2 separate regions of the Homo sapiens genome follow, and region 2 is linked to region 1. The links are contacts of gene promoters, found by promoter capture Hi-C in blood cells and fetal thymus (Javierre and others, 2016). All regions are on one chromosome and are shown on one strand. Each heading gives the region's core, a stretch centred on a gene start or on the middle of the fragment in contact. The rest is flanking DNA. Distances are from core to core; before and after follow the strand shown. Region 1 holds the start of DPYSL4 (dihydropyrimidinase like 4). Region 2 overlaps INPP5A (inositol polyphosphate-5-phosphatase A).

Region 1 (4,388 bases), core at 866-3,365:
TATTAAAGTTTGAACTGAAAGCCGTATGAGCCATTTCTGCACTTCTGAGTTCATTCTCTGAACAGTGCCTCTGCACACCAGAAACGGAGTCCGCGCCTTCCGCCCACTGTGGAGGAAAGCCCCAGTTCTCACCTGCGAGATCACCTGGAGGGCAAGCTCTGCAGTCGGGTGCCTGGCAGCACCTGGCTCCGGTCGACCACCTGGGAGGCTCCCTCCTGTGGCTGTTGGTCAAATGTGAACCATGGAAGAGATCAGACAGTTAGGAAAGGGACGGAACTTCTGCACGTGCATAAGAACAGTTGGTGATATTTGCCGTGGACGGTCCCACACAGGTGAGTAACAGACATTGCATTAATCATTTAGGGGAGGGGGAGCCCAGAGGAGGACGAAGGGGTGGGAAGCTGCTGGACCTAGCTCTGCTGGCTCGGGCCCCGCCAGTACTCGAGGTCATGGTGACTCAGTGGCCAAACTCTGGCTTTGAAATGCGGACTGCGGTAACAACGCAAAGGCCTGAAGTCTCTGGGTTCGAATTCAGCTGCTGCAGGCTGGGTAGAATGACAGATGGAGTGACAGCATCGCCCGTCACTCCTGTCTCGCCCCAAGCCTCTAACTCGGCTTTAAGGGAGATCAGCAGCAGTTTGCGTGGGCGGGTACACCCCACCCCCGCGCGCCCTCCACACTCGCCCAGGGTTTCGGAGTCAGGGCTTTCTTGTCTGGCGTGGGACGGCCCAAGGGGCCTGGAAATGTGGCCGGGATTCCCACAGCGGTTTCTCCGGTGCGCGCTCCCCGCCCGGCCTTCCCAGCGCCCAGTGTGTCCCGAGGGCGAGCAGCCACGCGTGGCCGGGACTAAGCGAGCACCCAGGGGCCAGAATGGGGCGTTCAGCACCCGCTACGTGGACAGAGCCAGCTCCGCGCAGCGCTGCCGGGCGGCAGGAGGCGGGGGGGGAGGGCGCGGCCTCCAGGTCCGCCCAGTGCACCTGCCGCGCAGACCTCGCTACAGGAGGCTCCGAGACCGGATTCTGTCGCCCGCTCCTGCCGTGACCGCGCGGCAGCCTCAGGAGCCCGCGAGGCCTCTGGCCCGGCCCAAGCTTGGCTGCGTGTTCCGCTGCGTGGAGGACGCCTTCGAGAGCAAGACGCTGCCGCTGGACGCTCTGGGCGGCGGCCGCCCGGGCCCTCGGGTTGGGAGGCGAGTCTGCGCGGCGCGCGGAGACCCCTCAACGGCCGCAGCAAGTCCCCGAGGGCAGCCCGGCGTGGCCCAGGCCCGGGACCCCCAGCAGGTAGTGGCCGCGGGACAGAGGCCGTGGGCCCGGGCTCGGACTCCCCGAGACCCTCGCACCCGGAGGACGCCGGGCGTGGGGCTCCCCCGCTCCCCCCTGCGGGGTCCTCCCTATCCGTAAAGGTCCTGAGCCTTCTGGGTCCTGCGACCACCCCCCACCCCCGCGAGGTCCCGCCCACCACCGCGTCCCGGTCCCTGGGGAGCGCGTGCGCCTCCTTCTGTCTCTCTCTCTCTCTCTCTCTGTCCTATTCGGGCCCCTCCTGCCCTCCGTCTCTCGCGGCCAGCGTGGAACAGCCTCGCGGGGTCACAGCCTGGCGCTCGGACCCTGGCCCGGGTCATCTGCGAAGGAGCCGGCTTTGGCCAAGGTGCCTTCCTGGACGGGTGTGGTTCCCAGAGCGTCGCGGCCCGGGGTTGACTGGCTCGGAATCCCGGGGCCTTGGGCGCCTCGCGTCTCCTGGGACCTGGGTTCCGCGCTGGAGGGCAGCGGGGGCGCGGGCGGGGCCTGGCAGGACGTGGCCGGACTCTCTCCCTCGCCTCCCCGGGGTGCAAACCCCGCGCACATCAGCTGGAGCAGGTTGAAATCCCCACCCAGCGCTCGTCCGCGGGTCTGCGCGGGGGCCCGGGGTGCAGAGATCAGACCCTGCAGCGGTTCCAGCGCTGGGGGGGCTTTAAAGCGAAGGAGTGGCTGAGGGCGGGGGCGGGGCTGATGGGCGGGGTGAGGCGGGGCTCGGGCTGGGGCGGGCCCTATCGGGGGCGGGGCCTGCCGGGGGCGGAGCCGGGGTGGGGGCGGGGCCCAGCGGGGGCGGGACCGGAACGGAGCCGTGCGGCCCCGCGCGCTCGCAGTCTGTCTCCCGCCGTCCCCACGCACGCGTCCCGGCTCACGCGTCCCCCCGCCCGCCCGCCCGCCCGCCCGCCCCCGCTTGTGCCGCCCCTACCAGAGACCCCCAGGAGCAGGATGTCCTTCCAGGGCAAGAAAAGCATCCCCCGGATCACGGTGAGCCCGGTCCCGCTTCGCCCGGCGCCCCCTGCCCGCCGCCCGGAGTGGGGCCTGGACGCCGGGCGGACCCTCCTGGTCTTGTGCGTGGGTGGGGGGTCCCTGCCTTTGCGTCTGGTCCCTGTCCTGGCGCCCGCCCTTCCCTGCTCGGCTCCTTCGCGCCCCAGGGTCCGAGAGTCCCCGCTAGCGCCGCGCAGACCCCCTTAAGGAGCGGGGCGCCCAGGCCCGGCCCGGCCCGGCCCTGCCCGGCCCTGCCGGGCCCTGCCGGGCCCTGCCCGGCCTTGCCCGGCCTTGCCGGCTTCCGGGAGCCTCGGCTGCGCCCGGGGAGAACCCGGGGCCGGGCGGCCTGTCCCTCGGAGCGCTAGCGGCTCCTTTCTCCCACGGCGGTCGGGTGGCGAGGCGGGCGGACGCGGCCCTTTGTTGGCCCGGGCTGGTCCGGGGCGCGGGGAGATGCCGTTCCCGGCGCAGCCCGTGGGTCGCCCGCCCCTTGGACGCACTGGCGCTGCGTCGGGAGCTCTTTGTCCGAGACAAAGCGATTTAGCCCCGGCCGCTCTGGCCGGAGTCCCTGGTGGCCCCGAACCCTTCCAGTAACCTGGGTTCAGCGACTCCAAGGAAAGCGAGCGGTCAAGGGCCACTGGCCGGGAACCCTGGCAGCCCCTGAACCTTCGAGAGCAGAGACCCCTCCCCAACACCCACACGCACCGGCGCGGGAGGTCCCGCTCTGCCAGAAACAAAGCCTCCCCGCTCGGGCGGGGGGAGATGGGGGTGGGAGGAAGGAGGCTTCGGGACCCGGCAGGACCTGGGCGGGGGAGTCCATGGGGTCCCAGACCCGACTCTGGACTTGGCCTCGGCGGGAGGGCCGTGGGGTCTGACCTCTGGCATTAGCTCGAGCCGTGGGCTGTGGGCTCCACTCCCCCAGACTCTGAGCGAGGAAGGAGCCCTCCCCTCTCCAGATGGGAGGGGCTGCTGCCTCCAGAGGGTTCTGCCCGGCTGGGTCTGGTCTTGATGCAGGAGGTCTTGCCAGTCAGCTGGCATGTGGGGGTCGAGTTTGGGGGTGGCAGGAGGACCCCTTCCCAGGGGAGGTCAGGCAACCATGTCAGTGCGGAGGGGCAGCTGCTTCCCGGGAACTTTCACCTCCATCCGGATGAGTGCAGTAAGAAGAGCACAGCCCCACACCCCAGCTGCGTCTCCTCTGGGTTCCAAACCCAGTCTCAGTGCGGGTGCCTGAACACTTGGGCGCCTATGAGCAGAGAGCCCAGACCACACGTCTCCTCAAGCCTCCTTCTGCCCGGTTGCGTTTTCTAGGGCTTCCTTGAAAATGCGTGGGTCCCCTGGGAGGGGTGGAAAGTGAAGAAGAGGGACAGCACCGGGAAGGCAGCCAGGGCCTGATGCGGCCACAGAGGCTCTGCAAATGCATGGTGGTGCCGGGTCAGGGCTGAGCCTGGCGCTCAGCTGGGACTGGGCAGGAGGAGGAGAGGTGCAGCGGCTGGGAACAGACAGCTCTGTAGACCAAGGGTCTAAAACTTCTTCCACAACCAGCCCGAGAGTAAATGTTGTCAGCTTTGCGGACCACGCTGTTCCTGTCTCAGCTGCTTGGCCCTGCCAGGAAAGCAGTCCTGGACATTTAGGAAGTCGATGGGCACCACTGTGTTCCAACAAAACTTCATCTGTGGATGCTGCAGTGTGAACTTCATAGAATTTTTGAGTCATGACATACTCTTGTTATTGTTTTCAGTGAATATACAAGAACGATTCTTAGCCTAGGGCTGTATGAAGAGAGGTAGAGGGTTGGGTCTGGCCTGTGGCATAGTCTGCCAACCGTTTGTAGACTATGGGGTAGAGGTTGACAAGTCACTGGGATCCTGAAAATACAGCCCCACAGTTAGATGTCAGCAGTGAATCCTGTAATGGAGTTCCTAGATAATGAACTCCTTCTCATTCTGAGAGTTTTACCAATTGTGCACTTCAGTTTAATGCTCTTGGCTTCAGACTGACGGTGCGTGAAGGCTCTAGCCCCAGGCTAGGGCCCTGGCCACCTATGGGTGGGCCCTGGAAACCCAGAGCAGGCGGCCGGACCTCCCTGTTAAATGCAGACGGTCAGTCCTGCCGGGTCAGTTG
Region 2 (4,430 bases), core at 1,117-3,616, 470 kb after region 1:
GGGCTCGGAGCAGAACTATGAGCCTGCAAGGCCTGCTGGGCAGAGTGGCCACAGCACGTGGCCGCTGGTCACCAACCGGGGGCTTACCCCTCTCCCACCCGCTAGCGCTGCCTTTGCACCTCGGAGGGCAGGTCTCTGCTGGCACCATGAGTGACCTGCAAGCACTGCCATGGTGGACTCTGCTCGCGCCTTGGTGGCTTCTAGGCTTTTCCAGGGGCTCTGGCCTCCTGCAGAGCAGGGTCTGCCTCCCCCGCGGCTGGGTCTGTGGAGAGTGAAGTGGGGCACAGATGCCCTTTGCAAGTGCTGTGCACGGCAGCTCACAGCCCCCACCCCCAGCTCTGTAGTCTGTAAGAGGCAGGCTCTCGGCATGGCCCCCAGGCAGTGGCCCTGGTGCTCTTGGGGTGGGGGGCCCCAGTACCCAGCGGTGGCCCAGGAATGAGAGGCCCGCTGCTTCCTGGGAGAGGCCCTTCTGCTTTCCCTCCTCCTCCTCTGTGAGCTCCCCCTTCCACTCTCGTTCTCCTAAATAAGACTTTAGGGAGAATTTATGGAAAATTGATGGAGTTTACGGATGTTCTTTGATCCAGAGAAGGGGAAGGAAAGGCAAACGCGTTTATGATGAGGAAGCTCATCTGCCTTAGGGCTCCAGCCCTGCCCTGGGGCTCGCTGCCTCCTCACCTGCCTGGGGGCAAGACAGTCCTGATGAAGTGAGAGGGGGCGAGATTGGTTTTCTGAGGGCACCGGGCCCTTCATGCTCCCCTAAATCACGGGCTGTCTCCTCAGCGGGCAGGTAATGACCTGCTCCCCGGCCCCAGCACCTGCAGTCCCGTGGGACGCGATGATGTGCGGCTGGGGCTGCAGTGAAGGTGAAACTGTCATATCGATCTTTTTAGCACTAAAATATGAGCCACTTTACTCCGCTCCCCGCTGCTGTGATGTGAAAAATAATAACTCGGATCCAAATTAAAAATATTGATCTCTGGAAGGTGTTGAAAGTAAATAAACACCTTCCGAAGTTTTTGGGTCAGCCGAGAAATGGTATTCAGCAATAAATGTGTCAGAGTCCAGGGTTCTTGATCTGTTTTTTCTTTGAATTGATTTTTCATTATTTACTTCCTAAAAGTGTTGGAATTTGGTCCTCCACTGTGAAATCCCAGTGTTTGGGCACATTATTTCTTTGGGGCTTATGAGGTGCTCCTAATCCACTCCCTTATTGATGGATTGATGTTTGACTCCATAAGCCTGCTTTATTTAGGACCTTCCATCATAATTTTTTGTACATTTAGGCTTGACTCTTTTATTTCCTTCTAACAGATGAGCTGACATTGGGCTATCAAACGGGTGGGAAAACAATTGCCATGAGGTTAATTTCATGGTCGGCTCCGTGCGTTCTGAGCAGACGGGTGTTTCCTGGCTGCAGGCCGGGCCTTGGATGCAGCCTTGACGCGTGTCGATCTGTTTACACACAGGGCTGAGTCCGCCGGCCCCCCGGGGGTGCTCATGGGTGCCCGGGTGTCTGCAAGCTGCCCGCAGCTGGGTGGTCTCTGGGCACGGATGCTCTAGGCCCTCTGGGCTCCAAGGAGGCTGGGTTGTATGTCTCTTGAGAAGCTTTCCTTTCGAAAGGCCACCAAGACCACCGAGACTGCTGAGACCGCCAAAGCCACCAAGACCGCCGAGACTGCCAAGACCACCAAGGCCGCCGGCTGCTCCCGGTGGCTCCATGCACCCGGCAGGAGAGTGGAAGGCGTCGGGCCTGGGGCAGTTTGAAAAGATAGGTGCCGCCAGCATCTGCGCTTCCTCGTGGGTGCTCAACAGGCTGCCTGGGAAGCTCCTTCTGCCATCACCTGGAGTCAGCTGCCGTCCACAGTGGAAGCTGCCAGCCACCAAGGCTACCGACCTGGGCCCTGGGGATGAGCAGCCCAGGAGGCGAAGATGCCTAGGTGGGTCCCCAGCTCTGCAGGTGCCACTCCCCACGCCAGTGTTCTCCAAACTTCCGGGGAGACCTGTCTGTGCTCCTGTAGGTGTCAGGCAGACTCAGAGGCACAGGGGTTCAGATTGAGGCCTGGGGCTGAGGAAGCAGGAAGTCCTGTCAGGAGCTGGAGCACTGAGAAAGGCACCTTGCTGAGAGCAGCCTTGGAAGGGTCCAGAACTGGAAAGATGGAGAGCTGCCATTGGCCCGTAGCTCTGGGGCTGGTCCTGGCCATCTAGCCATGGGACCATGGGCAGAGGGTTCCCTAGCTCTGGGTGAGGCGGGAGTGGTGGGCAGTGCTGGCCATGAGGTCCCTGTGGGGTGCATCCACGGACGCGGGTCTGGAGGCGCTGCTGTCTAAGCTGAGGCTTTTGAAGGATGACCGTGCCCAGGTTATCCAGTGTTCCTTCTCAGCGAGCAGCTCCCATGGCAGTCCATTCATTCAACATGCCCTGGTCCAGCTGCTGCACAGCCATGGGTATTCTGTGCTGAGCGCCGTGGCTGATGCACACCCACCGTCCCCTGCAGAGGAGACCTCTGCACGCAGGCCCACAGCAAGGGCCGGATCAGGAGAACAACCCACTTGGCAGGCGGCAACCTTGCCTGGCACTCACCAGGGCCTCCTCCCCAGCACTGTCCCGAGTCAGGTCTGCACGGCTTCATGGCTGCCTGCCCTGGGAGGTGGAGCATGGAGAAGGCCAGTGCCTCATCACAGAGCCAGATGCCCACAACAGGATCCAGTGCTGTCAGCTGGGCTCCAGAAACCTGAGGACATGCAGCCTGCAGCTCCTGACACATGACATGTGACATACAACACATGACACGCGGCATACTCCCTGTGACATGGCACATGACACGTGACACAACACATTCTCATGCTCCGCCGACGCGTGACCCACGGCACGTTCCCGCGCTCCGCCGACGCGTGGCCCACGGCACGTTCTGACGTCTGCCAATGCGTGACACACGGCACATTATAATGATGTAAATATTGATTATTGATTTAAGTGAAAATATTGAGAGGGTGGGGGTGAGAGATGGAGTGTGTGTGTGATATTGAGTGACGGGGAAAGATAGTAGAAAGTAGTTAAATCCTCTTCTTCCAGCATGGAAAAATTGAAAAATCAATGTTGAAAACTGGAAAATCAAGAAGTGGCAATATAAGCTTTAGAGGTATGGAGATAAATACCAAAAGAAAACAATCAAAAGAAAATAATTGCCTCTGGGAACTAGAAGACTGAAGTGGACAGGAGCTACTGTTTTCATAGTGTGCCTTGCAGAACTCGTGTGTGTGTGTGTTACTAGCTTTTAAAAAACAAAATTCCAGGAAACTTCTTAGGAGGAAGAGACTCCTTCTGTTGATGGTGACATCAAACAAGACCTGCAGGAGGAGGTAGCACTGACAAGAAGGTGGTGTGCCAGTTTGTGATCTGGTGCGGTGAGGCACCTGTGTCAGCAACAGGTGGGAGTGGCTCTGGTGTCTGAGCAGAGGCTCTGGTGTCTGAGCAGAGGCTGTCTGGATGCCATTCACGGTGAGAGAAGAGCCTAGAATCTTGACTGTCCTTTGAGTATCAGGTAAAGAAATTTGAATGTGATTAGGTAGTCAGTGGGGACCATTACAGAGTTCAGGGAGAGAGGTGAGGCAGTCAGAACTGGGGGAAGATGGAGAAGGGACAAGTGTGTTGTTTCAAACGTAGAGTCCTCTGATATCTACCTTTTAAATTCTTATTGAAGTAAATGCACAGAGAGGACCAGAAGTGGTGATCCATATTGGTGCACATTTATTTTTTTGACTCTGATTCCTTTAAGCCTAAAACTAGGGCAGTGTCCCATACTGAGCACTAAAGAGAAGTAGGGTCAAACCCAGGAGGGAGGAAAACCAGATCCCTGCACCTTGGCCAAGATGAGGATGCCGGATGGAGCATAGCCAGTCCTGGAATGAGGCCTGCATCTCTCCCTTGCACAATGCCCCCACCCACAATCCAGCCAGGTCTCTCTGTGTCCCCAGCTGCATGCTCCCACCTCTTCGTGATATGGTTTCAAAAACACAATCCAGCACCATGTGTAAATTGTTTGATGCTTGAGATCAACTTTACTGAATTGCCTACATTGAAAGTGATGAGGACAATACCTCCTTCAGGAAGAAAAAGGCAAAATGAAGTGCTTTCATGAATAGTCAGAAGGGTCTTACTAACATAAAAATATTTTGATTATGTCTTCAGAATCTCTTTATGTAGTTAGTGGCTTGTAAGCTGTCAACTTGTAAATGATGCCGTTGGAAATTGAAATGTAAATAACATTACCATTTATAATAGCATCAAAAATATGAAATATTTAGGAATAAATTAGGTCAAGATGTGTAAGACCTGTATACTGAGAACTATGATATATTGCTCAGAGAAATTAAATAAGATCTAAATAAATGGAGAGATATACTATGTTCATGGATCAGAAGACTCAATCT

What was found. The method cuts DNA at HindIII sites, captures the fragments that hold promoters and counts their contacts. A CHiCAGO score of 5 or more calls a contact.
Region 2: a contact is called between a fragment that was not itself captured here and the fragment with the promoter of DPYSL4 in region 1, in 5 of 17 cell types (monocytes, naive B cells, non-activated CD4 T cells and 2 more). The highest score is 7.5, in monocytes.

The regions. Positions count from the first base shown.
Region 1 is chr10:132,184,833-132,189,220 of GRCh38, forward strand. DPYSL4 (dihydropyrimidinase like 4) reads left to right here and starts at 2,116. Exons shown (of 14, transcript NM_006426.3): 1 at 2,116-2,270. The coding sequence starts at 2,232. JAKMIP3-AS1 (JAKMIP3 antisense RNA 1) reads right to left here and starts at 1,920. Exons shown (of 4, transcript NR_184044.1): 1 at 133-1,920. It overlaps JAKMIP3 (Janus kinase and microtubule interacting protein 3), which reads left to right. Exons shown (of 24, transcript NM_001323087.2): 24 at 1-26. RefSeq lists an enhancer at 2,835-3,336. The HindIII fragment of the contact is 7,306 bases long and covers 1,087-4,388 here.
Region 2 is chr10:132,657,158-132,661,587 of GRCh38, forward strand. The region is part of intron 4 of INPP5A (inositol polyphosphate-5-phosphatase A); the gene reads left to right. Among named protein-coding and RNA genes, the nearest start is that of INPP5A, 120 kb to the left of the region's middle. The HindIII fragment of the contact is 1,526 bases long and covers 1,604-3,129 here.